4 separate regions of the Homo sapiens genome follow, and regions 2, 3 and 4 are each linked to region 1. The links are contacts of gene promoters, found by promoter capture Hi-C in human tissues and cell types (Jung and others, 2019). All regions are on one chromosome and are shown on one strand. Each heading gives the region's core, a stretch centred on a gene start or on the middle of the fragment in contact. The rest is flanking DNA. Distances are from core to core; before and after follow the strand shown. Region 1 holds the start of CHMP1A (charged multivesicular body protein 1A). Region 2 overlaps ZNF778 (zinc finger protein 778). Region 3 overlaps ANKRD11 (ankyrin repeat domain containing 11). Region 4 holds the start of TUBB3 (tubulin beta 3 class III).

The links. Contacts are between HindIII fragments. The study calls those that stand out against the background at their distance.
Region 2: a fragment that was not itself captured here is called in contact with the fragment with the promoter of CHMP1A in region 1 in 1 of the 25 tissues and cell types used here (dorsolateral prefrontal cortex).
Region 3: a contact is called between a fragment that was not itself captured here and the fragment with the promoter of CHMP1A in region 1, in 1 of the 25 tissues and cell types used here (dorsolateral prefrontal cortex).
Region 4: a contact is called between the fragment with the promoter of TUBB3 here and the fragment with the promoter of CHMP1A in region 1, in 1 of the 25 tissues and cell types used here (lymphoblastoid cells).

The regions. Positions count from the first base shown.
Region 1 is chr16:89,655,101-89,661,723 of GRCh38, forward strand. It overlaps CHMP1A (charged multivesicular body protein 1A), which reads right to left and starts at 2,608. Exons shown (of 7, transcript NM_002768.5): 1 at 2,482-2,608. The coding sequence starts at 2,488. It overlaps SPATA33 (spermatogenesis associated 33), which reads left to right and starts at 2,736. Exons shown (of 3, transcript NM_001271907.2): 1 at 2,736-2,848; 2 at 3,148-3,321. The coding sequence starts at 2,812. RefSeq lists silencers at 2,335-2,394, 2,615-3,004 and an enhancer at 2,720-2,889. The HindIII fragment of the contact is 33,607 bases long and covers 1-6,345 here.
Region 2 is chr16:89,236,715-89,243,337 of GRCh38, forward strand. ZNF778 (zinc finger protein 778) reads left to right here. Exons shown (of 7, transcript NM_001201407.2): 7 at 1-427. Among named protein-coding and RNA genes, the nearest start is that of ZNF778, 22 kb to the left of the region's middle. RefSeq lists a silencer at 4,314-4,403 and an enhancer at 4,911-5,427. The HindIII fragment of the contact is 4,092 bases long and covers 847-4,938 here.
Region 3 is chr16:89,299,458-89,306,080 of GRCh38, forward strand. It overlaps ANKRD11 (ankyrin repeat domain containing 11), which reads right to left. Exons shown (of 13, transcript NM_013275.6): 4 at 5,749-5,887. LOC124903757 (keratin-associated protein 5-2-like) reads left to right here. Exons shown (of 2, transcript XM_047435030.1): 2 at 1-1,530. The coding sequence ends at 904. Among named protein-coding and RNA genes, the nearest start is that of ZNF778, 85 kb to the left of the region's middle. The HindIII fragment of the contact is 5,718 bases long and covers 1,231-6,623 here.
Region 4 is chr16:89,920,210-89,924,591 of GRCh38, forward strand. TUBB3 (tubulin beta 3 class III) reads left to right here and starts at 3,133. Exons shown (of 4, transcript NM_006086.4): 1 at 3,133-3,249. The coding sequence starts at 3,193. MC1R (melanocortin 1 receptor) reads left to right here. Exons shown (of 1, transcript NM_002386.4): 1 at 1-763. The coding sequence ends at 3. RefSeq lists enhancers at 1-75, 76-959, 1,846-2,729, 2,652-2,946 and silencers at 2,800-2,889, 2,910-3,059, 3,140-3,389. The HindIII fragment of the contact is 8,728 bases long and covers 1-3,979 here.

The sequences.
Region 1 (6,623 bases), core at 1,358-3,857:
GAGTGTTCACAAATGCACACCAAGGCTCCAAGATGAGATCTCCCGGGGTTCCAGAAAGCTCTGGGCATCGTTCAATCTATCGCCTGTCAGTGCAGGCGTGGTCAAGGCCAAGTTCAACCTGTCATCTATCAGTTCAGGTGTGGTCACGGCCAAGGTTATCTGTGACTGGAAAACAGCCAGCCTGACCCAGATGGCACAGTGCAGGCCAGGCGGGCCGTCCCACCCAACTCACTGTGGGATGCTGGCCAAACCGCCCTCCTCATCTCAGCTTTCCCTCACCTCAGCTTTCCCTCACCTCAGCTTTCCCTCACCTCAGCTTTCCCTCACCTCAGCTCTCCTCACCTCAGCTTTCCTCACCTCAGCTTTCCCTCACCTCAGCTTTCCTCACCTCAGCTTTCTCTTCCAGCCGTGTGTGGCAGCACAAAAACCCAGCTAAGGCAAAATCTGACTCTGAGGAAATCTGACATGGGCTTGAGAGAAGTCCCCTCAAAAGAGTTGAGTGAGCTGTGGAGTGAAAAGCCACAATTTTTCTTTTTTTTTTTTGAGACGGAGTCTCACTCTATCACCCAGGCTAGAGTGCAACGGCACCATCTTGGCTCACTGCAACCTCTGCCTCCCAGGTTTAAGCGATTCTCCTGTCTCAGCCTCCCAAGTAGTTAGAATTACACGTGCACGCCACCAGGCCCAGCTAATTTTTGTATTTTTAGAAGAGACGGGGTTTCACCATGTTGGCCAGGCTGGTCTCAAACTCCTGACCTCAGGTGATCAACCAACCTCGGCCTCCCAAAGTGTTGGGGTTACAGGCGTGAGCCACCACATCCGGCCTCCCAAAGTGCTGGAATTACAGCCGTGAGCCACCGCGCCCGGCCTCCCAGAGTGCTGGGGTTACAGGCCTGAGCCACCACACCCGGCCTGGCCAGCATATTTTTTGTGGCGGGAGGTAGATGTTATCTTTCATCTTCTCTCAGGGCAGAAAATCTCTACACATTTCCTTCATGATGATGACACGGTGGTACTATAGCTTTTCACACTTCTAACTAAAAGAATTTTTTTTGAGACGGAGTCTCGCTCTGTCGCCCAGGCTGGAGTGAAGTGGCGCGATCTCGGCTCACTGCAAGCTCCGCCTCCCGGGTTCACGCCATTCTCCTGCCTCAGCCTCCCGAGTAGCTGGGACTACAGGCACCCGCCACCACGCCTGGCTAATATTTTTGTATTTCTAGTAGAGATGGGGTTTCACTGTGTTAGCCAGGATGGTCTCGATCTCCTGACCTTGCGATCCGCCGGCCTCGGCCTCCCAAAGTGCTGGGATTACAGGCGTGAGCCACCGCGCCCAGCCCTTCAAAAAGTATTTTTAAAAGCCTGCCCATCACACCAGCCCAACGATGTTTCAGCAAACATAGGACTTCATTTTGCCAGATTCTTCCTGTTCTTTGGTATCCCTGAGCACACAGCCGGCTAGCCCCAGATGTAGAAGGTAAGAATTAGGGCGACCCATTGAGCACAGAAACGCTTGTGCTGGCTCCTGCTCAAACCTCTGCTTCCCCACATGGAGAATGGACGCAAAGAGCTGCTGTGACCAGGGCCTGGCACTCAGGGAGCGCTTTCTGTCTGAGTCCTTCTGATTTGCAGTGATGCTGTTTGGGGCAGGGGGTGCAACTGTCACTTTTTCTGGTGCCCTCTGACCCGACATTCCAAGTCCCGAAAGGCCGAACAGGCATCGCACAGTCCCCCCTACCGAGCTGGCGGGAAAGGGCGCCTGACGCTGAGGAGTGCCAGGGGCGGGGGAAAGGGTCCTGGGTCGGTGGTCGGGGGTCCAGGCCCTGGGCAAGGGGTCCTGGGTCGGGAGTCTAGGTCCCGGGTCCATGGTTGGGGGTCAGAGGTCGAGGCCCCGGGGAAGGCATACCGGGTTGAGATTTGGGGATGGAGGCCCCGGGGAAGGGGTCCCGAATCGGGGGTCGGGGATCGAGGCCTGGGGGGAGGGGTCCCGGGTCGAGGGTCGAGGCCCGGGGTAAAGGATCTCGGGTTGGGGGTCGGGGGCCTGGGAAGGGTCCCGGTCGGTGGTCGGGGGTCGAGGCCCGGGAGAAGGGGTCCCGGGTCGGTGGTAGAGGCCCTGGGGAAGGGGTTCCGGGTCGGGGATCGAGGGTCGAGGCCCGGGAAAAGGGGTCCCGGGTTGGTGGTCTAGGCCCTGGGGAAGGGGTTCCGGGTCGGGTATCGGGGGACGAGGCTCGGGAAAAGGGGTCCCAGGTCGGTGGTCGAGGCCCTGGGGATGGGGTCCGGGTCGGGGATCGGGGGACGACGACCGGGAAAAGGGGTCCCAGGTCGGTGGTCGAGGCCCTGGGGATGGGGTCCCGGGGGATCGACGGTCGAGGCCCGAGCTCTCCTGAGTCCTGCCCGCGGCCCCAGGTGGGCGGAGCCCACGCCAGTGGGAGAAGCGGCCCCGCCCCGCGCGCGAGTCCCCGGAGGACGGCCGCGACCTCTTACCGTCCATGGCCACAATGACAGGAGCAGCACTCGGAGAGGGAGAAGGGACGCCAACTCCGGGCGGTGTCAGGTCCCGGCGGCGATCGAACCGACCAAGCTGCACCCGGCGGGGACTTCCGGGGTCGCCGCCCCACTTCCGGTCGCACGGGATGCTCTCGCGAGAGGATGGTGGCCGGTCCCGCCAGAGGGGCGGGGCGCGGCTGCGCGGCGCGCGGTCGCCATGGTGACGCACGCCGCTGGCGCGAGGACCTTTTGTGAGTCGCTCCCGGCTCCGCGGCCGCGGAGGTGTGGGGACCCGGGCTTGCGTCGGAGGGGGCGGTGGGCTCACCCATGGGCCTTTCCAAAAGCAAAGAGAAACCCAGGAAAGGTAAAGGAGGCGCAGGCGCTGGGCTCCCCGCGTCTCCGCCCCTGGGCGCGGGCCCAGGGCGGGGCTGGGCTGGGCGGGGCGGTGTGAGCGCAGGCGCCAGGCTCGGCCCGGTGCGAACCGTTCCTGCCGCCGAGTCCGCCACGGACGGCGCGTTTCCCGCCTGAGGCGGTTACGGAAACGCGGAGACTCGAGACTTGAAGCCAGCTTATTCTGGACCCACGCAGGCGACTGAAGACGATGGGACCCACTGCCCTGCATTCGGTAAGTCCCGGGTCTAACGGATGATCCATATATTTCAGGTGAGGAGCAAAAGAAGGGATCCACCTATTCAGTTCCAAAATCTAAGGAGAAGTTGATGGAGAAGCATTCCCAGGAAGCCAGGCAGGCAGACAGGGAGTCGGAGAAGCCTGTGGACAGCCTCCACCCGGGGGCCGGGACAGCCAAGCACCCGCCGCCGGCAGCTTCGCTGGAAGGTAGGAGACGGCGGGAGGGAGCGAAGCGAGGTCAGTGGCTTGGAGGATCTGGGGCTGGGGTGAGGAGCCTACTGTAAGACCCTACCGGATGGACACTAGTAGCAGGCACGCGCCGTAAAGATGAAACTGGTTTGTTTTGGGAACTTTATGTAGGAGGTAAATATCCAGAAATCTTAGTTGAAAACATAAGTTTAATGAAAATGTAGGTCAGTTCCCGAGTGATAAGTGCGTACCAGGTGGTCGAGGGGCTGGGGCAGTGTGCGTGTGTCTCACCTGAGGTTCTCCTCGAGGGCTGGGTATCTTGGTGCCACTGAGAATCCCTGAGCCTCCGCACACTGGAACAGAGCATTGGGAGGCCGTCCCAGGCTGGACTGTAGCTCTCCGAGGGCTGTGGGGATAAGTACATTGCGGAGGGTGACCGAGGAGTAGAACCTGGGTGCGACAAAGGTGTCTTTTATAACAGCCTAGTGTGGCCAGACCTTTGGGTGTGTGTGGGGAAGATGAGGCCCCAAAAGTAGGAAGAAGCTAGAATACAAAGTTTTCCATCAGTTTTACCACGTGGAGCTGGAAGCGTTAAATATTTTAAACAACGGAGGTGCTGCCTGGGGCGGTAGTTCACACCTGTCCTCCCAGTTATTTGGCCGAGGCAGGAGGATCTTTTGAGCCCAGGAGTTCAAGACCAGCTTGGGCAACATAGTGAGACCCTGTCTCTACAAAAAATAAATATTTAAAAATAAAAAACAAGGGCGGCATGATGAGGTCTGTGCCTACCAACAGGGGAAGCCAGTTCGCAGGGGAGGTGGCCCGGTCAGAGACCCATTGCTGTGGCCCAGTGGGAGCCAGCAAGGCCTTGCAGTAGGAATTGCAGAAGGGTCAGGCAGGGAGAACCCGCAGAGCCTGCCGTCCGAGGAGATTGGGGGCCTGTGCCAGGAGGAGGTGTTTTAAGTTTCATCACAAGAATGAACCACTCGGCTGGGCGCAGTGGCTCACGCCTGTAATCCCAGCACTTTGGGAGGCCGAGGCGTGTGGATCACTTAAGGTCAGGAGTTCAAGACCAGCCTGGCCAACGTGGTGAAACCCTGTCTCTACTAAAAATACAAAAATTAGCTGGGCGTGGTGGCATGTGCCTGTAATCCCAGCTACTCAGGAGGCTGAGGCAGGAGAATTGCTCGAACCTTGAACCGGGACCCGGGAGGCAGAAGTAGTGGTGAGCGAGATCGCACCACTGCACTCCAGCCTGGGCTACAGAGTGAGACTCTGTCTCAGAAAAAAAAAAAAATAATAAGGAGAGAACCACTCGGGTCAGACAAGAAAGAATGTCAGGGGGATGACTGGCCTGCTAGGCAGAGGAGCTGGGCCTGGACTGCTTCACACTGACACGCTTGTAGGATCAAGGGCTGAAAGTAGGAGGCTCTGGGCCTTGGACTTGGAAGAAAGACTTGGATTTGAATTCCCAACTTTGGAACCTCCCACTGGAGGGTGGAACCCCTCACAGGAGGGCGCAACCCCCCACCGGAGGATGGAACCCTGCAGGAATAGCATCACCCTTGGGTGGCAGTTTGGAAAATGCTACCTGTCTGTCACGGTGCTTTTAGCTGAAAGTTACAGAAAAGCTCACTAAACGCAGCTTTAACACAGGGATTTAATGTCTCACGAATGAAGGGTCAGAGGTGGAGCTTCCAGGTTGGCTTGTTAGCACAACAGTGACATCAAAGACTTTGCGTGTCTCTTCTTGACCACTCTCAGTGTCCACAGCCCCCGATGAGTGTACAGCCCCCCACACGCAGGCAGGACTGCATCTACTGCAAAGGCATTGCTCCTTGCTTCATATTAGCAAGGAAACCTTTCCCAGGAAGGCTTCGCCTGCCCAGCCTCTGCAGGACTCATTCAATGGTGCAAATTCACCAGGGGCTGGAGGGAGCTGTGAAGCATGGGAGTGGGCAGGACCTCTGCCAGTAACGGAAGTGGGGGAAGGAGGACCGCCTGTTGGAAGGGCCCCAGCAGTGTCTGTCACACCAGAGGGTGGGGGAGGAAGGTGGACATGAAGGGAAAACAGCAGAGCAAGAGTGAGAACAGAGTTTCAGCAGATAAAATGAAGTGTGCACGCTCTCCATGCAGTGACGGGCTGAGCGACAGTGAGGAGCAGGCTGCTGACTCCCTTGCCACACCGTGAAGGAGTCCCAAAGGTGGGACACTGAGTGAGACAAGCCAGAGGAAAGACCACTCATGTTGCAGTTCCCTTTCCATGGAATGTCCAGAAAAGGCACATTTACAGAGAGAAGCAGATGAGTGGTTGCTGGGCAGAAATGGGAGCCGGCCACAGCTGAGCACAAGAGGACTTTGGAGGGTGATGGAAATGGTTTTCGACCTGAATCTGAACATGGGAAGCACTGCAGTTTAGTAGTCCTGGTCCCTAAGCCCTTCCAGCCCAGGAGCCAGACCTGTGAGCAAACAAGCCTTTAGTGATTCCAGGCTCTGGCTGGAACCTTGAGTCTTCTCAGCTTGGGGCATGCACCTCAGGGGGAGCCAGCATCAGTGTCCAGCCCCAAGAGCTTCCCTGTACGTCTCAGTGAGTCTTCACATGCCTCCAACTGCCTGGACAACCACACGTGATACCTGTCCTGCCAAACGTGTCCTGAACCCATAAAATCCAGAGAAAAGAAAATCGTTTTAAACTGCTGAGGTTTGGGGTAAGTTACTATGAAGCAGTAGTGAGAAGAACAGAAGGGCCATGATGGGGAGAAAGTTTGGCCATAAGTTAATCACTGTGGCAGCTGTTAGGATATTGATGTGGCTTGGCTGTGTCCTCACCCAAATCTCATTTTGAATTCCCACATGTGGGAGGAACTGGGTGGGAGGTGATTGAATTATGGGGGCAGGTCTTTCCTGTGCTGTTTTCGTGATAGTGAATGAGTGTCACGAGATCCGATGGTTTTAAAAACGGGAGTTTCCTGCATAAGCTCTCTCTCTGCCTGCTGCCATCCATGTAAGATGTGACTCGCTCCTCCCTACCTTCCGCCGTGATTGTGAGGCGTCCCCAGCCATGTGGAACTGTAAGTCCATTAAACCTTCTTCCTGTGTAAATTATTCAGTCTCTGGTATGTCTTTATTAGCAGCATGAAAACGGACTAATACAGATAGATGTATTATACTGTTACCCCTACTACTTCTGTATATGCTTAAATTTTTGCATTACAAAATTCACAAACATACAAACATTATAGAGAACTAACATCACAGATTTACAGTCACCTTATTCCACAATGTTGGAAATTCTACCACAAATAAAGAACTTGAAAAAA
Region 2 (6,623 bases), core at 1,643-4,142, 420 kb before region 1:
TTTCAGTGGCAAAATACCATTCCAGAAGGACTGGAAAAGCTAAGTCTGTATATTTTAATTACTAAAGAAGTGTACAGCTGGGTGTGGTGGCTCACGCCTGTAATCCCACCACTTTGGGAGAGTGAGGTGGGTGGATCACTTGAGGTCAGGAGTTTGAGACCAGCTTGGCCAACATGGTGAAACCCCATCTCTACTAAGAAATACAAAAATTAGCTGTGTGTGGTTGGGGGCACCTGTAATCTCAGCTTCTCAGGAGGCTGAGGCAGGAGAATCACTTGAACCCAGGAGGTGGAGGTTGCAGTCAGTCGAGATTGTGCCACGGCACTCCAGCCTGGGTGACAGAGCAAGACTCTGTCTAAAAAAAAAAAGGACAATGAGATATACTAAAATGGTCCAATATGTTAATTAAAACATACTACTAAAAAAAGTGTTAAATAGCCTGAAAGAATTGTGATAAAGGGGAAACTGAGTACTGGGAACAAAAGAGAACAAGTAGGTAACGAAGTGGTGGCCAGGTGCGGTGGCTCAGGCCTGTCATCCCAGCACTGTGGGAGACCGAGGCGGGCGGATCACTTGAGGTCAGGAGTCAGACCAGTCTGGCCAACATAGTGAAATCCCGTCTCTACTAAAAATACAAAGTTAGCCAGGGGTGATGGTGGGAGCCTATAATTCGAGCTACGTGGGAGGCTGAGGTAGGAGAATCACTTGAACCGGGGAGGTGGAGGTGGCAGTGAGCTGAGATCGCGCCACTGTACTCCAGCCTGGGTGACAGCAAGACTCTGTCTAAAATAAAAAATAAAAAATAACTGGTAGAGCTGAATCCTAGATAATCAAACACATTAGTGCACATGATCAGCTGGGCACTCACGCCTGTAATCCCAGCACTTTGGGAGGCCGAGGCGGGTGGATCACTTGAGGTCAGGAGTTCCAGACCAGCCTGGCCAACACGGTAAAACCTTGTCTCTACTAAAAATACAAAAATTAGCCAGGTTTGGTGGCTCATGCCTGTGGTCGCAGCTACTCAGGAACCTGAGGCAGGAGAATCATTTGAACCCAGGAGGTGGAGGTTGCAATGAGCCAAGATCGTGCCACTGCACTCCAGACTGGGCAACAGAGCAAGACTTCATCTCAAAAAAAAAATATGATCTACACATGCTATTTAAAGATAGGACAGATAAAAAGTGTGACGCATCAGTATGTCATCTACAAGACACTTCAAATACAATGACGTAAATAGGTTAATAGTACCATGTAAACATAATAAAGTGGAGAGGCTGTATTTAACATCAGAAAAAATGACTTCAGCACAAAGAAAATTACCACAGGGTGTTGAGTGCAGTGGCTGATGCCTGTAATCCCAACACTTTGGGAGGCTGAGGTGGCTGGCTCACTTAAGGCCAGCAGTTCAAGACCAGCCTGGGCAACATGGCGAAACCCTGTCTGTACTAAAAATACAAAATTAGCCGGGCATGGTGGCAGGCACCTGTGATCCCAGCTACTTGGGAGGCTGAGGCAGGAGAATCTCTTGAACCCGGGAGGTGGAGGTTGCAATGAGCCGAGATAGCGCCATTGCACTCCAGCCTGGGCAACAAGAGCAAAACTCCATCTCATAAATAAAAGTTAAAAGCAAAATGTGATAAAAGACCACAAAAATGAAAAATTACAGTGTTAATTATATTGATTCAAATTAGTTATGTTAAATATTAGCAAATAATACAAAACCACATTGAGAAAATAATAAACCATGACCAAGTGGAATTTAAGACTGCAACTGGTTCAATTAGAAAGCCTATTAAATACTACACCATATGAATCCATCTAAGAAGATAAGGCATGTGATTGTATCCATAGGTGTTGATGAAGCCTTTGGGAAAATGTGGTACCTACTATTGATAGACGCACTCAAAATAGGAATTGGTGAATACTTTCTTAGGACGCCTGTGTCTGTAGCTATATGTGTGTGTGTGTGTACTGGAAGTGTTACCTAATGCAATTGGGCAAAACAGATTTGCAAAAAAGTGAACTATCTCTTGTGTGCATTATATGATATACATGGAAAGCCCTGTAGAATCAGTAAAAACATTTAGTAAGTTAGAGGAGGTGAAGTTGCCGTCAAAACATAGATGGTCTTCATCTACACAACCAATAACCAGTGAGGTGATATGATAGTAGAGAAAACTTATTTATAATAGCAATAAAACAATGCTTAGAAATAAATTTATCAAGAAATGTATAAAACCTAAATGAGGAAACTTTTTGTTTGTTTGTTTGTTTGAGACAGAGTCTCGCTCTGTCATCCAGGCTGGAGTGCAGTGGCATGATCTCGGCTCACTGCAACCTCCACCTCCTGGGTTCAAGTGATTCTCCTGCCTCAGCCTCCCAAGTAGCTGGTATTACAGGTACCTGCCACCACGCCCGGCTAATTTTTGTATTTTTAGTAGAGACGGGATTTCACCATGTTGGCCTGGCTGGTCTCAAACTCCTGACCTCATGATCTGTCCGTCTCGGCCTCCCAAAATGCTGGGGTTACAGGCGTGAGCCACCGGGCCGTGCCCGGCCATGAGGAAACTTTAAAACACTTTTTTTTTTTAGATGGGGATTTGCTCTGTCCCACAGGCTGCAGTGCAGTGGTGTGATCACAGCTCACTGCAGCCTCGACCTCCAGGGCTCAAGCGATCCTTCCTCCTCATCCTCTCAAGTAGCTGAGACTACAGGTGCACACCACCACACCAGGCTAATTAAAAACTTCTAGGCCAGGCGCGATGGCTCACGCCTGCAATCCCAGCACTTTGGGAGGCTGAGGCGGGTGGATCACGAGGTCAGGAGATCGAGACCATCCTGGCTAACATGGTGAAACCCCATCTCTATGAAAAATACAAAAAGTTAGCCAGGTGTGGTGGCGGGCGCCTGTAGTCCCAGCTGCTTAGGAGGCTGAGACAGGAGAATGGTGTGAACTCAGGAGGTGGAGCTTGCAGTGAGCCAAGATCACACCACTGCACTCCAGCCTGGGTGGCAGAGCAAGACTGTCTCAAAAAAAAAAAAAAAAAAAAAAAAAAAAAAAAAAAACCACATAGACTTGAACAAACGGGCAAATTCCTTGTTCTTTGATGGGATGACAACATCATAAAAATCCCATTCTTAATTCAGAAATGAAACATAATCCCAGTTACAACAGCACCAAAAGCTTTTTGTGGAGTTAATGCAGATTGACGCTGAAGTTCATGTGGGGGCACAGACGTCTGATGGTGCCCAAGAAACCCAGGAGACAAAACTGATGCTTCCCTGTGGACACTGCAGCATCCTCTAAAGCCGCTGTAATTAAGGTATGTGACACATGACCAGGAAGCAGACAGATGGACAAAAATGGAATATCTGGAAATAGACCTAGCAACATGGAAATTTAGTTAATAAAGTGGGTATTTCAGATCAGTGGGGCAAAAATGCAGTTTGTAATGAAAGGTGCTAGGACAACTGGTGAGCTGTCTGAACAAGATGGTTTTACATGTATAAATTACACCGTTCAGGTCGAGTGTGGCGGCTCACGCCTGTAATCCTAGCACTTTGGGAGGCCAAGGGGGGGCAGATCAGTTGAGATCAGGAGTTCGAGACCAGCCTGGCCAACATGGTGAAACCCCATCTCGGGCAGGCGCAGTGGCTCGCGCCTGTGATCCCAGCACTTTGGGAGGCCGAGGCAGGCGGATCACGAGGTCAGGAGATCGAGACCATCCTTGTTAACACAGTGAAACCCCGTCTCTACTAAAAATACAAAAAAATTAGCCGGGCGTGGTGGCGGGCGCCTGTAGTCCCAGCTACTCGGGAGGCTGAGCCAGGAGAATGGCGTGAACCCGGGAGGCGGAGCTTGCAGCGAGCCGAGATCGCGCCACTGCACTCCAGCCTGGGCAGCAGTGAGACTCCATCTCAAAAGAAAAGAAAAGAAAAGAAAAACCCCATCTGTACTAAAAATACGAAAGTTAGCCAGGCATGGTGGTGCGGGCCTGTAATCCCAGCTACTCAGGGGGCTGAGGCAGGAGAATTGGTTGAGCCCGGGAGGTGGAGCTTGCAGTGAGCCGAGATGGCGCCACTGCACTCCAGCCTGGGTGACAGAGCGAGACCCCGCCTTCCCCCCGCCCCCCAAAAAATTACACCGTTCACAGGAATAAGCTGCAAATGGATCAGGGATCTAAATGTGGACAAAACGTGCACACGTGGGTGATGTGAATGGTTTCGGGGCGATTGGGAAGAGGGCCTGGCCAGCAGGGGGCGGTAGCGCAGGCAGACCGGGTTCCGCGGTGCCTCGCCGGCTTCGGGGTGGGGGTCACCGCTCAGAAGGGGAGGAGAGCGAGGGACTTCCGGGGGGAAGGGAGGAGAGCGAGGGACTTCCGGGGGGAAGGGAGGAGAGCGAGGGACTTCCGGGGGGAAGGGAGGAGAGCGAGGGACTTCCGGGGGGAAGGGAGGAGAGCGAGGGACTTCCGGGGGGAAGGGAGGAGAGCGAGGGACTTCCGGGGGGAAGGGAGGAGAGCGAGGGACTTCCGGGGGGAAGGGAGGAGAGCGAGGGACTTCCGGGGGTAAGGGACTCGGTGAGGAACTCGGGGGATCGGAGAGGGGCTCGTGTGCTGGGCGACAGTGACACACTCAGCAGCCCGGCGGGAGCCGCGGTCGGTACCGTCTGAAGGGCAGCCGGGGCTGGGGGACCGACAGCTCTCAGGTGTCGGTTTTTCTGTGGCTAGCGGATGTTTGGCACCATTTCACAGGGCACACAGGGCAGACGGGACCTAGATGACGACAGATCTGCGTGTTTGGGCTCTGTTTGAAACAGACCTCAGCCAGAGTCTTGAAGAGCAGAACCCGGAGTGTTGAAGTCACAAGAGATCAACATCCCTACGGTGTGAAATCCTGAAAACGGCAAATCCCAAAGGACGAAACGCCCGAAAATGATGTCATCCTTTAAGTGTTTTCTTCTTTTTTCTTTTCTTTTTCTTTTCTTTTCTTTTTTTTTTTTTTTTTGAGTCAGGATCTCGCTCTGTCGCCCAGGCTGCAGTGCAGTGCCGCTATCGTGGCTCACTGCAGCCTCAGCCTCCTGGGCTCGAGTGGTCCTCCCACCAGAGCCTCCCACACTGCTGGGATTACAGGCACCAACCACCTTGCGCAGCTAGAGAGTAATTTTTAAACTTCTTTAAAAGACAGTTAGACTGGACATGGTGGCTCACGACGGGAATCCCAGCAATTTGGGAGCTCAAGCTGGGGGGATCGCTAGAGTCCAGGAGTTTGAGACCAGCCTGGGAAACAGGGAGACCGTGTCTCTACGAAAAAAAGTTTAAAAAATTAGCCGGATGTGGTGGCTCACGCCTGTGCTTCCAGGTATTCTGGAGGCTGAGGCAGGAGAATGGCGTGAACCCGGGAGGCGGAGCTTGCAGTGAGCTGAGATCGCCCCACTGCACTCCAGCCTGGGTGACAGAGCTAGACTCTGTCTCAAAAAAAAAAAAAAAAAAAATATATATATATATATATACACACACACACACGTATGTGTGTGTGTGTATATATACATATATATTTACTATATATTTATATATGTTATATATATAAATATAGATAGATGATCAGGAAAGACGTGAGAATGTCTTCAGTTGACACCTCAGGCTGAGCATCAGCACAGAGGCAGCCCACAACAACAAAAAACACAACAGTCAACAAAACCAAAACCCAGCAAACCCTGGGGAATGGGGAGAGTCTGACTTTCAGAGTTATATTATTAGATTCAAACGTCTAATTTTTTTTTTTTTGAGACGGAGTCTCGCTCTGTCGCCCAGGCTGGAGTGCAGTGGCGCGATCTCGGCTCCCTGCAAGCTCTGCCTCCCGGGTTCACGCCATTCTCCTGCCTCAGCCTCCCGAGTAGCTGGGACTACAGGCACCCGCCACCACGCCCGGCTAATTTTTTTTGTATTTTTAGAAGAGACGGGGTTTCACCGTGTTAGCCAGGATGGTCTCGATCTCCTGACCTTGTGATCTGCCCACCTTGGCCTCCCAAAGTGCTGGGATTACAGGCGTGAGCCGCTGTGCCCGGCCTCAAACGTCTAATCTTTAACAAAAGTTCCAAGCGGGCCAAGGGCACAGATGCTGCCTGCACCTGCGCAGCCACCCACCGTCGACAGGAGAGCAGAGGCACCAGGCCTGCTCCCACCACAGAGAGAAACGGGCTCCCCAGCCCAGCTCTGGGCTGGTCAGCAACCCCCACTCCCCACCCTGCCTGCTCAAAAGAAAGGGTCCTCGTGCCTCCAGCCCCCTCCACCCTCCCTCCAGGACCTTCCTGACCATGCGCTGGGCCTGTGCAGGTGTTGAGCCACACCCACGCCCTTCCAGGGGGCGGGGTCTCGAAGGGGAGAGCAGGTGCTATAGTCAACAGGAGGGAGGGCTTCTGGCCGAGGTGGCAAGGAGGCTCCAGGAGGAGAAGACAGTGTTGACCTGGGGCGTTGAGGGATGAGGAGTCCTGTAGGCAGCAGTGGAAAGGAAGGTGCTCCAGACAGGGGGCCTCGGGGAACAAGGGGATGCTGGAGTGTCACTGGTGATGAATCTGTTCGGGTCTGCAGCAACCTCAGTTCTTGCCTCCTTAGAAGAAAGAATTC
Region 3 (6,623 bases), core at 2,840-5,339, 350 kb before region 1:
GGTGCCTGCCCTGTGTGGGGTGTGTGGGGTCTGTGCCCTGTGTGGGGTGCGTGGGGTCTGTGCCCTGTGTGGGGTGCTTGGGGTCTGTGCCCTGTGTGAGCTGCCTGCCCCGTGTGGGGTGCGTGGGGTCTGTGCCCTGTGTGGGGTGCCTGCCCTGTGTGGGATGCATGGGGTCTGTGCCCTGTGTGAGGTGCCTGCCCTGTGTGGGGTGCGTGGGGTCTGTGCCCTGTGTGGGATGCCTGCCCTGTGTGGGGTGCCTGCCCTGTGTGGGATGCGTGGGGTCTGTGCCTTGTGTGGGGTGCCTGCCCTGTGTGGGGTGCGTGGGGTCTGTGCCCTGTGTGGGGTACCTGCCCTGTGTGGGCTGCGTGGGGTCTGTGCCCTGTGTGGGGTGCCTGCCCTGTGTGGGGTGTGTGGGGTCTGTACCCTGTGTGGGGTGCGTGGGGTCTGTGCCCTGTGTGGGGTGCCTGCCCTGTGTGTGGTGCATGGGGTCTGTGCCCTGTGTGAGGTGCCTGCCCTGTGTGGGGTGTGTGGGGTCTGTGCCCTGTGTGGGGTGCCTGCCCTGTGTGGGATGCGTGGGGTCTGTGCCCTGTGTGAGGTGCCTGCCCTGTGTGGGGTGCGTGGGGTCTGTGCCCTGTGTGGGGTGCCTGCCCTGTGTGGGGTGCGTGCGGTCTGTGCCCTGTGTGGGGTGCCTGCCCTGTGTGGGGTGCGTGGGGTCTGTGCCCTGTGTGGGGTGCCTGCCCTGTGTGGGGTGTGTGGGGTCTGTGCCCTGTGTGGGGTGCCTGACCTGTGTGGGGTGCGTGGGGTCTGCTACACGCTTGGTGAGAAACTGCATCAGGGCTTCCCGCCGTGTGTTGCTAACATCCCCACACACGTGAGTGCCTTGGGACCCTCGTCAACACACTGAGCTGAGGCCACTGGTCCACGGCACACTGCAGTGCACATGCCCTTCCTGGCCAGAGGCTCCCAGGGGCGCCATGCTCTCCAGGCACCTGCCCCGCCTGCGAGCACAGCCTGGCCCCTGCTGCACTCTGCTCTCTCTGCCCGCTCGGGTCCACTGCAGCTGAGCGGGTGGGAGAAGCCTCTTCAACTTCACACACTTGTCGCCTCTAGCACTGGGCAAGGTCTGGCATTCAGAGTTCCAAGAAGTCCCACAGATACCAGTGGCTAAGTCTGTCTTCCCTCCAGGAATGGGGAAGCAGGAGCCGTCAGAACAGCCGTCTCCTATCTGAGGCACCAGGAACAAACATGACGTCAGGAAAAGACTGAAGGTGCCAAGCACCTAACGCTGAAGGAACCAGCATGTGCCTGGCAGCACTGCAGAGAGCACACCCCAGGCACCAGAGACCAGGGTGTCATTCACAGGTCAAAGCAAAATAAGAAAATCATAATTTTTCCCCTTGTTCCAAAGAAACATCCACGTGCAGAGGGCAGGCAGCTTCGGCCCATGGCGCTCCTGACGAGGGCTCCCTCGTGGCTGCCCCAGGACAAGCAGGACCCCGGCGGTCCTAGGCAGGGAGAAGCGAGACTCAGGGTCACAGACGAAGGCGCAGGAGAAACAGCGGGGCAGGAGGCTCCCCAGAACCCCAGGGAGGCCAGGCAATGATGCACAGCAACCTCAAAAACATTCGCTGGTTGACTGATTATTTATTTATCTATTTTATTTTTTATGGACAGGGTCTCACTCTGTCGCCCAGGCTGGAGGGCAGTGGCGCAATCACGGCTCACTGCAGCCTTGACCTCCTAGCCTCAAGGGATCCTCCCGCCAAAGTGCTGGAAGGGTGAAGGGTGTGAGCCACTGTGCCTGGCTACTTTTAGATTTTTTAAGTTTTGGGAAACCTTACACATATAAAAAAGTAGACAAAGTAGTATCATTTGAAGCAAATCCCAGATATCATATAATTTAATATGAATGCTTTCAGTGATAAGGCTTTTTAAACTGAGACCACCCTTGAGGTGGTAGAGGACAGACTTCAAAAGCAGATACAAGAGGCCCCGGGCAGACAGGGCAGGCAGAGCAGGGCAGGCAAGATGGGCTAGAAGTCCCAGGGCAAGCTGGTCTGAGAGGGCTCGGTGGGCAGAGCTGTCTTGGGGCCGGGACATGGCAGGTGCCTTCCCACTCCTTGCTGCACCCACAGCCCTTACAGAGGCCTGGTCCTAGGACGGGCTCTTGCCCAGCGCTCTGGAAGACACAGAGGTGATGCTGTCACATGCTCACGTCTGCCTGGACAGCCTCCAGGCTGCTGTGCAGGGACCACGCGGATGCACAGCCTCGGGGACTGCTTTAAACTGGGCTGATTCACAACAGACAGAATCACATTGTTCTTGGCAGGCGGCCCCCAGCCCTGACTAAGCACCGCAGAGGCCACATCTCCATGGCACTGGACCGCGGGCAGGGCCGACTCAACCCTGCATCTGGGAGGCGGGAAGCCATCCCCACAGCAACATGGAGGTCTCTGAGGGAGACGTGCCAGCCTCTGCCACTTGGACACAGCCAAGGCATCCGGCACGGTGGTGACCCTGCATCCCTCCCACCATAGCAAGGGGCACCCACACCCCTCCAGAGAGGCCTGACTGCTGGGGACCAGAGAAGAGTCTCTTGTCTGTCACGTGTCAGTTAACCCTGCACCAATGTTTCTCTTCTCATCCCTGCTGGTGTGCGCCTCTCCCTCCACCCCACTCATTTCTGAGCAAGAACGGCTCCTCTGGGGGAAGGAGGGGACGCGGCGTGTGTGAGAGCCACAGCGCCCAGCAGCCTCCCGGCCCAGGGTGGGGCTGAACGCACTGGAGTTGGACTCGCTACTATTTATTTATTTAGAGACGGAGTCTTGCTCTGTTGCCAGGCTGGAGTGCAATGGCGCAATCTTGGCTCACTGCAACCTCCACCTATTGGGTTCACGCAATTCTCCTGCCTCAGCCTCCCGAGTAGCTGGGATTACAGGCACCCGCCGCCACACCTGGCTAATTTTTGTATTTTTAGTAGCGACAGGGTTTCTTCATGTTGGTCAGGCTGGTCTCGAACTCCTGACCTTGTGATCTGCCCGCCTCGGCCTCCCAAAGTACTGGGATTACAGCCGTGAGCCACCGCGCCTGGCTGTGGACTTGCTACTTTAAGAGGGTCCTGGTTAAAATGCAAGCTTCTAGGATAAGCAACGCTCCACACTCATACATCAGAACAATCTTCCTAGGAAATCTAGTTTTGCAACATTAAACAAGAAGTTATTAAAATTGGCCCCGAAAGGGTGATAAACACAGGAGGACAAATACTACGTTTCTTAGGTCTTTTTGTTACAATCCTTGCCTGGAAAATTCTATTTTCAAAATGTTCTTTACTGTTTTCCCACCTCACAGGGATTCTCACCTACCCTGTCCTCACCTAGGCCTGCCCCTCACAGAGTAAGGACATGGTGTTCAACACGCAGTTCCAGGAGCACCCAGGGCTGTGGCAGAAAATATCCCAGAGACCCACAGAGAGCGAGAATGGCCTCAGTGGGCCAGCACGGCTGGCACCACGCAGGCGCTAACCATCAACAGACAGACCCCGGAAGCTTCTGACAACACAACAGGGCCCTGGGTGAGAGCTTCTCTGCACCATGATGAAACGGCCACCACAAAGAGACCTGAGCAGCCAGATGGGGTGGGCACCAGGTAGCCCTGGGAACGCCACCTTACCAAGTGGGATCATTCTCCCAGGAAGCAGAAGCAGATGCTTGTCTCATTAACCCTTTCAGCAACACCTCCAGAGACATCACAGAAACACCTCAAAGGTCTGAGGCCAACTCCCGCATGGCCACTGTGCAAAGAGCTAACAGCTACGTATCAACATGACGGCCTTCTACAACCAAAACCAGCATGGGGACCAAAGACGGCAAACACAGGGTTTCAGGCCTGGACTGACTTTCTCTAGGCCTAAAGCCCGAGAGTACACAGCACCGCTGGGAGCTCCAGGGAGTCACCCAGGCCCTCCCTTCTGGGGGCTGAGGTCCCTTACACAACCCATCCACACATTCTGTCCACTCACTTCCCCGTGTCTCCCAGTGTTCTTCCTCGGAGCTGTCCGCTGCTGGGAAGAGGAGTCCTCCTGGGCCTGTGCTGGTGTCCCTGCAGCCTTCCTGTCCCCAGATGTGCTGGCCCAGAGACAGGAGCCATGTGCCTGGCACTGCACCTGCCCCTCACTTCCCATCTGGGAAAACCAGCCCTCTCTGCTGGCCTTTCACTCAGCAGAGTCTCCACCTGGCTACTGTGAGCACATCCCTGGAGCACCCCACATAGGACAGGAGGGGCCACAGGCCTGCGGCAGCCACACAATCATAAAGGCTGAAGCTTGCTGAGCTGTGCTGACAAAAGCTGGGGTGTGGATCCTCTTTACTGGCTGTGCCTGCTGCCGTTCCTCTTCAACAATCTCCTTCGTATCACGAGCTCTTCTCACCTGGACCACTTCCCCCATCTGCTCTCAAGCCCGCATCCTGGCACAGCCTCTACGCCTTGTGCTATGGCTGCATTCAAGAAGTCTCAGGAAGCCAGGGACAGAGCCGAGGGCCTGACTCAGCACTCTCCCGGTTCACTCCAGGCTTTGTGGCCAGCTTAGTGCTCTACTGCCTCCAACCTTCCCCAGCAGGGCTGTAGAGAAGCTGGATGACCAGGAGGACAAGGAGGCCTCTGGACACAAGAATCACCAAAGAGCAAGCACGGCCAGCGCAGAGGCCTCTGGGCTCCCTGCAAGCAGCTCAAGACAGAATCCACTGGGAAGGTGTCACTGCAGAAGGCGCTGACCCCACCAGGAGCGTGTGCACATGAACACACATGGGCTTGCACACGGGCACACAGGCATGCACACATGGGCACACAGGCACACACGTACACATGGGCACACACAGGCATGCACACACACACGGGCGCATACACAGGCATGCACATGCACACACATGCAAACGCACACATGGGCATACACACATGAGCGCACATATATACAGGCACACACAGGCACACAAAAGCATACACATACTCAGGCACACATGGGCACACATACACGGGCATAGACGGGCACGCATACACAGGCACACATACAGGCACACACATGGGTACACACAAGCACATACACGGGCACACACATACATGGGTACATACAAGTACATACACACACGGGCACACACACGGGCATACATACAGGCACACACATGAGGGCATGCACACAGATACACGGGCATGTGCACATGGGCACACATACACACAGGCATACACACTTGGGCACACACTCTGGCACAGGCACACAGCACACACATTCCTGCTCTGCAGCCTCAGACCCCGCCTGTGCTTGGGAAGACCTCCCTGCCTCCTGCTCACTTTTAGGGCTCCCTTTGGTTTTTACTACAAGCAATGGAGTTTCTTCCTGTGCCTTTGTGGCCCTGAGGGGAACCACTGTCTCCCTCCCGTGTCCAGCTGTCAGAAGACCCACAGGTGAGCAGCCCCATACCTCGCCCAGGGCTGGACATGCACCGGGTGCATCTCCACGTGTGTGGGACCCAAGAGTGAAGCTCTCCAATCGGCCCCATGGGCCTGAGCCTCGGGTGCAAAGGAGGTGGCATGTGGGGGCCTGTGCTCCGCCCCTGCTGCCTCTTGCCTGGACGGCGTGCAGGGTGCTAGAGTGCGTCCCAGTGCAAAGCCGGAGGTGCGGGGGCCAGGGACGCCCTGCCTGGGCTGCTCCGGGCTGCCTGTGGAGGGCTGACTGCAGGAGGGGCCGCGGGCTGGTACCTGTGTCCGAGTCCTTCTGCTCCCCATTGGCGCCCGCGGTGAAGGGCAGCTTCCGCTTGCTGGCTCGCTCCCTCACCTCCTTCCCGCCATCGCCACGCTCCAGTTTTGGGGTCTTGGTTAGAGAAACTTTATCTTTATCCTAGAAAAGAAAGGGATGCTTTCAGTCGTGATGTCCAAATTACATTCTCAAGCTCTCAAGATTTTGTTTCATATGCCAGGAGAAGCGCATCTCTTATTTGGGCAATGAACACCCTCCCTGCACCCCAGGGCGTGGCTGTGTGAGGCTGGTCACCGACCGCAGAACCTTCACCCAGAAGCCCGGGGTCGGGCTGTGGCTCAGCCCTGACTCTGGCCCATTTCTCATCCTGCGCACCGGAGGGACGCTCAGGAAATCGCTGGTGTGTGTGGAGAAAGCAGAGGAGACACACACGCGCTACCTCTCACTCCGCAGACACGCGCTACCTCCCACTCCGCAGACACGCGCCACCTCCCACTCCGCAGACACGCGCCACCTCCCACTCCGCAGACACGCGCCACCTACCTCCCACTCCGCAGACACGCGCCACCTCCCACTCCGCAGACACGCGCCACCTCCCACTCCGCAGACATGCGCCACTTACCTCCCACTCCGCAGACACGCACCACCTCCCACTCCGCAGACACGCACCACCCACCTCCCACTCCGCAGACACGTGCCACCCACCTCCCACTCCGCAGACACGCGCCACCCACCTCCCACTCCGCAGACACGCGCCACCCACCTCCCACTCCGCAGACACGCGCCACCCACCTCCCACTCCGCAGACACGCGCCACCCACCTCCCACTCCGCAGACACGCGCCACCCACCTCCCACTCCGCAGACACGCGCCATCT
Region 4 (4,382 bases), core at 1,883-4,382, 270 kb after region 1:
TGAGCGCGGTGCACGCGGCTTTAAGTGTGCTGGGCAGAGGGAGGTGGTGATATTGTGTGGTCTGGTTCCTGTGTGACCCTGGGCAGTTCCTTACCTCCCTGGTCCCCGTTTGTCAAAGAGGATGGACTAAATGATCTCTGAAAGTGTTGAAGCGCGGACCCTTCTGGGTCCAGGGAGGGGTCCCTGCAAAACTCCAGGCAGGACTTCTCACCAGCAGTCGTGGGGAACGGAGGAGGACATGGGGAGGTTGTGGGGCCTCAGGCTCCGGGCACCAGGGGCCAACCTCAGGCTCCTAAAGAGACATTTTCCGCCCACTCCTGGGACACTCCGTCTGCTCCAATGACTGAGCAGCATCCACCCCACCCCATCTTTGCTGCCAGCTCTCAGGACCGTGCCCTCGTCAGCTGGGATGTGAAGTCTCTGGGTGGAAGTGTGTGCCAAGAGCTACTCCCACAGCAGCCCCAGGAGAAGGGGCTTTGTGACCAGAAAGCTTCATCCACAGCCTTGCAGCGGCTCCTGCAAAAGGAGGTGAAATCCCTGCCTCAGGCCAAGGGACCAGGTTTGCAGGAGCCCCCCTAGTGGTATGGGGCTGAGCCCTCCTGAGGGCCGGTTCTAAGGCTCAGACTGGGCACTGGGGCCTCAGCCTGCTTTCCTGCAGCAGTCGCCCAAGCAGACAGCCCTGGCAAATGCCTGACTCAGTGACCAGTGCCTGTGAGCATGGGGCCAGGAAAGTCTGGTAATAAATGTGACTCAGCATCACCCACCTTAGCCCCTTCCAGAAAGTGCTTGAAGTTTGCGGGTGGAGGGATGGGGGAGGGGAAGGTGGGCAGGGGTGAGAGTCGAGAGGGAAGAAAGGAGTCCCGGAAAACGTGGCTGCCTCCCCAGGTGAGGAAGCCACAGCCCCAGAGGCCCCAAATGCCTGGGGAGTGTGGAGGTCCCAACCAGGCTTGCGCTGACCCTGCTTCTCGGTTTTCTCTCCGTGCTGACAAACCCCAGCCTAGAGGAAGGACGAGCAGGTGCAGCAGGGCCCCAGTCCCCTCCACTCTTGACGCTGTCCTAGCTGCAGAAGAGGCGGGTTCCCAGCCTTCCCTGTGACCACATGTGACCTCAGCCGGGACACATCCCTTTGCTGGCCCTGGCCCTGAGTCCCTCCAGCCATGATGAGCCGTGAATGGGACCATCCCTGTCCACTCTGAGATGCCTGGAAGGGGGCTCAGTGCAGGTGGGCTGGGGGCTGGGTCTGCTGTCTGCCCAGCACTGCCATTCTGGGAGTAGGCAGGTGGGGAAGGGGTCGGGGGTGGAGGGTCTGTGTTCAGCCAGTCCTGGGAAATGCTTGATGTGAGGCTTCTGAAGATGGCAGTGAGGCAGAGGCCCAGCCGGCGGAGAAGTCCCTGGGAGTGAGTACCTGGGGATGAACTATGCTGCCTGGTGCTGGGGAGCAGTGGCGCCCCTGGGCCATCCCTCTGCTGAAACCTGGGCGTCTCGCTGAAGAGACCACCTCCATTTCCTCTGCAGAGACTGAGCACTCAGTCAGCCCCCTTCCTGGGACAGGCTCAATGGAGGCTGCAGGGCCATCAGCCGACTCCTACGCAGGCTCAGTCAGCAGCCCCCTGGCCAGCCCCACCCCTGACTGCCGGCCTCAGAACTGGGAGCTGCTTCCTGGCAGGGCCCGCCTCTGCTGGGAGACCGGACGGTGAGTCAGCCTTAAGCCCGGCACCAGACCCCTCTGAGGATGGAGCAGGAGCTGGCTGCCCTGAGGCTGCAAAACTTCTTCCCTCGTGGAGACAGGGAGGCACCTCAGACACTCACCCCGGACTCCCTTGAACAGGGACAGGGAGGAACCCCAGGCAGCTAGACCCCAGCAGCAGCCACACGAGCACACTGTGGGGCAGGGAGGGGCATCTCTTGAGAACAAAAGATCCATTTCTCGACTTTCCAAACTGGAGAGCTTCTTGAGAGAAAAGAGAGAGACAGGTACAGGTCCACGCCACCCACACACAGCCCTGTGCACACAGACCGGACACAGGCGTCCACAGGCAAGTTCGCAGCTGCTCATTTTGTGAAGTGAATGCTGATTTGGGGGCCGGGTGGGGTTCGTCTGTACATCGTGCACTGTCAGACCCTTCCTGAAGGATTTTTGTTACTGAAGTATCAGAAGGCCCTTGTTCTAAGGTGGTGGCACTGTAATATCTGGCCCAGGAGGAGGTCAGTGCCGTGCCGGCGAGTCCTTTGCTCCCTTCCTTCTCTGACCAGTAAACGCATCTCCAGTCGCTCCCCCGAGGCCCCCCTGCACGCAGTCTCCGACCTCAGAGAGTGAGTCAGATAGAAGCCGCTGCCCACCCTCCCCCACCCTGGCCGGGTTCTTGCCTGGCTTGTGCGTCCTTGTGACAATTCCTGACACGGATGCGCACCGGGCAGTGGCACGTCCAGGTGCTGTGCGCGCCCGGGCCCACAAAGCTCCTTTGGACGCTCATGGCAGCCCCTTGGTGGAGGAGGTCGGGTGCCCACCCCCTCCCCGCCCACTGCGGAAGCCGGCGACCCACGGAGCTCGCTCTCGGCCGCCGCCACCCCTCTGTGTTCGCGCCCTTCCGAGCTCTGATCCGACGCTTTGTTTCTTCTCAGTGGGTTCAGGGCCTGGGCCAGCCTTTACCTACCTCCCCCACCCAAAACCGGCAAAAGCTCAGAGCACCTTGTCTGCCAAAAGACAGGGAGCTGGGATGGTGCGGGTTGGTCTCTAAACCGGCGTGGGGAAAAAAGACCCTCCGTACAAAGCCGCAGGGTGGGGCTGTCGCAAGGGCGGAACCGAGAGGGTAGCTGGGGGCGGGGTTCCCAGGGCCAAGAGGGGCCATTGTCCTCCCTGGAGCCCGGCGCCCCCACAGCCAGCTCCTCTGGGAGACAGCCCCTCCTTTCGAATGCGCGGGGCCCTCAGACCGCGCCCGGCCCAGCGCTGGGGGATCCTTGGCTGCGGGAGGGGCGCCGCATTGCGCGCGGCGGGCGGGGACGCGCGGTGCGGAGCCTGCGGGCCGGGCGGGGCTCTGCGGCGGCGCCTCCCGATTGGCCACCCGCGGTGACATCAGCCGATGCGAAGGGCGGGGCCGCGGCTATAAGAGCGCGCGGCCGCGGTCCCCGACCCTCAGCAGCCAGCCCGGCCCGCCCGCGCCCGTCCGCAGCCGCCCGCCAGACGCGCCCAGTATGAGGGAGATCGTGCACATCCAGGCCGGCCAGTGCGGCAACCAGATCGGGGCCAAGGTGAGGCTGCGCGCCCCGGCCTGTCCCGGGCCCCGGGGCGGGAGGAGGGAGGCGCCGTGCCCCGCGGGCCGCACCTCCAGCTGCCCCCGCCCCTGCGAACCTGCAACAAAGGGATGCGCCCAGCGCCGCGCCGGGCGGCCGGGACGCGGGGCCCCCGCCCTGGGACTCTCGCCTGCACCTCTCTGCCCCTGCCCAGGTGACCTCGGGCTGTCGAGGCGCAGCTCACGTCAGTCGCGAAGCCTCAGCCCCCTCCACACCTGCGCCCCCTCCACACCTGCACCCCCTCCACCGGGCCTCCGCAGGTGCAGCTGGGAGCCCTGTCTGGGCGTGGCCCTCTTTTTTGGGGCCGCGGCATAGCCTTGAGTGAGACGGGTGGGGTAGGCAGGTTTGGGTGGGGTGGGGGGTTCTCCTCACAGCCGTGATTTCCTCGGCCCGAACCCCCCACTGGAGTAGCCGAACGTCCCCCGAGAGGCTAGAGCCGCCCCGATTTCCCCAGCCTGCTCCGACACCCCTCGGCGTCCTAGCTCCACCCTGTCCCTTTGTTGGAGGGGTTGGGCCTGGACTCGAGATGACCTTGGTCCAGGACCAGGCTCTCCATCGGCGCAGCCGCTCCTGGGCAACCCCCGCGGGGCTTGACCGCGCCCACCCAGGGTCTACCAGTCTGGGGATTGGATGTGGGAACAAAGCCGGGCTGTGGGGTGTGGAGGCTGCACCGTGGCGCGCCCCTCCCTCCATTGTTAGCCCACCTCGCAGATGTTGGGGCCACGCAGAAAGGGGCGTTGGTGCAGCTGTGCAGGGACCCCTGCCTAAATCATTAAGGGGACGTCGTGTCCCCTGGTCCTGGGAGGCTGTCCCTGGCCCAAGGTCACACAGCAGGTGCGAGAGAGCTGGGCTGGCCCTTGGTTCTCATCCCCTGCAGGAGCCAACCTGGGGCTCGGGCGGGGCGGGTTGGGGGCGCTGCTTGCCAAAGGATCTGCCCTCCGAACAGTGTTGGGGAACAGGGGATCGGGGGGGGAGGCTGGCTTTGTCAGGACCAAGGCCAGGGACCCAGCTCAGGGCTGGTGCAGCGCTGATTCTGGGAAGGAGGGGGTGCAGGAGACGGTCCTGGAGGGGAAGGGGCCAGAGAAAGGCAG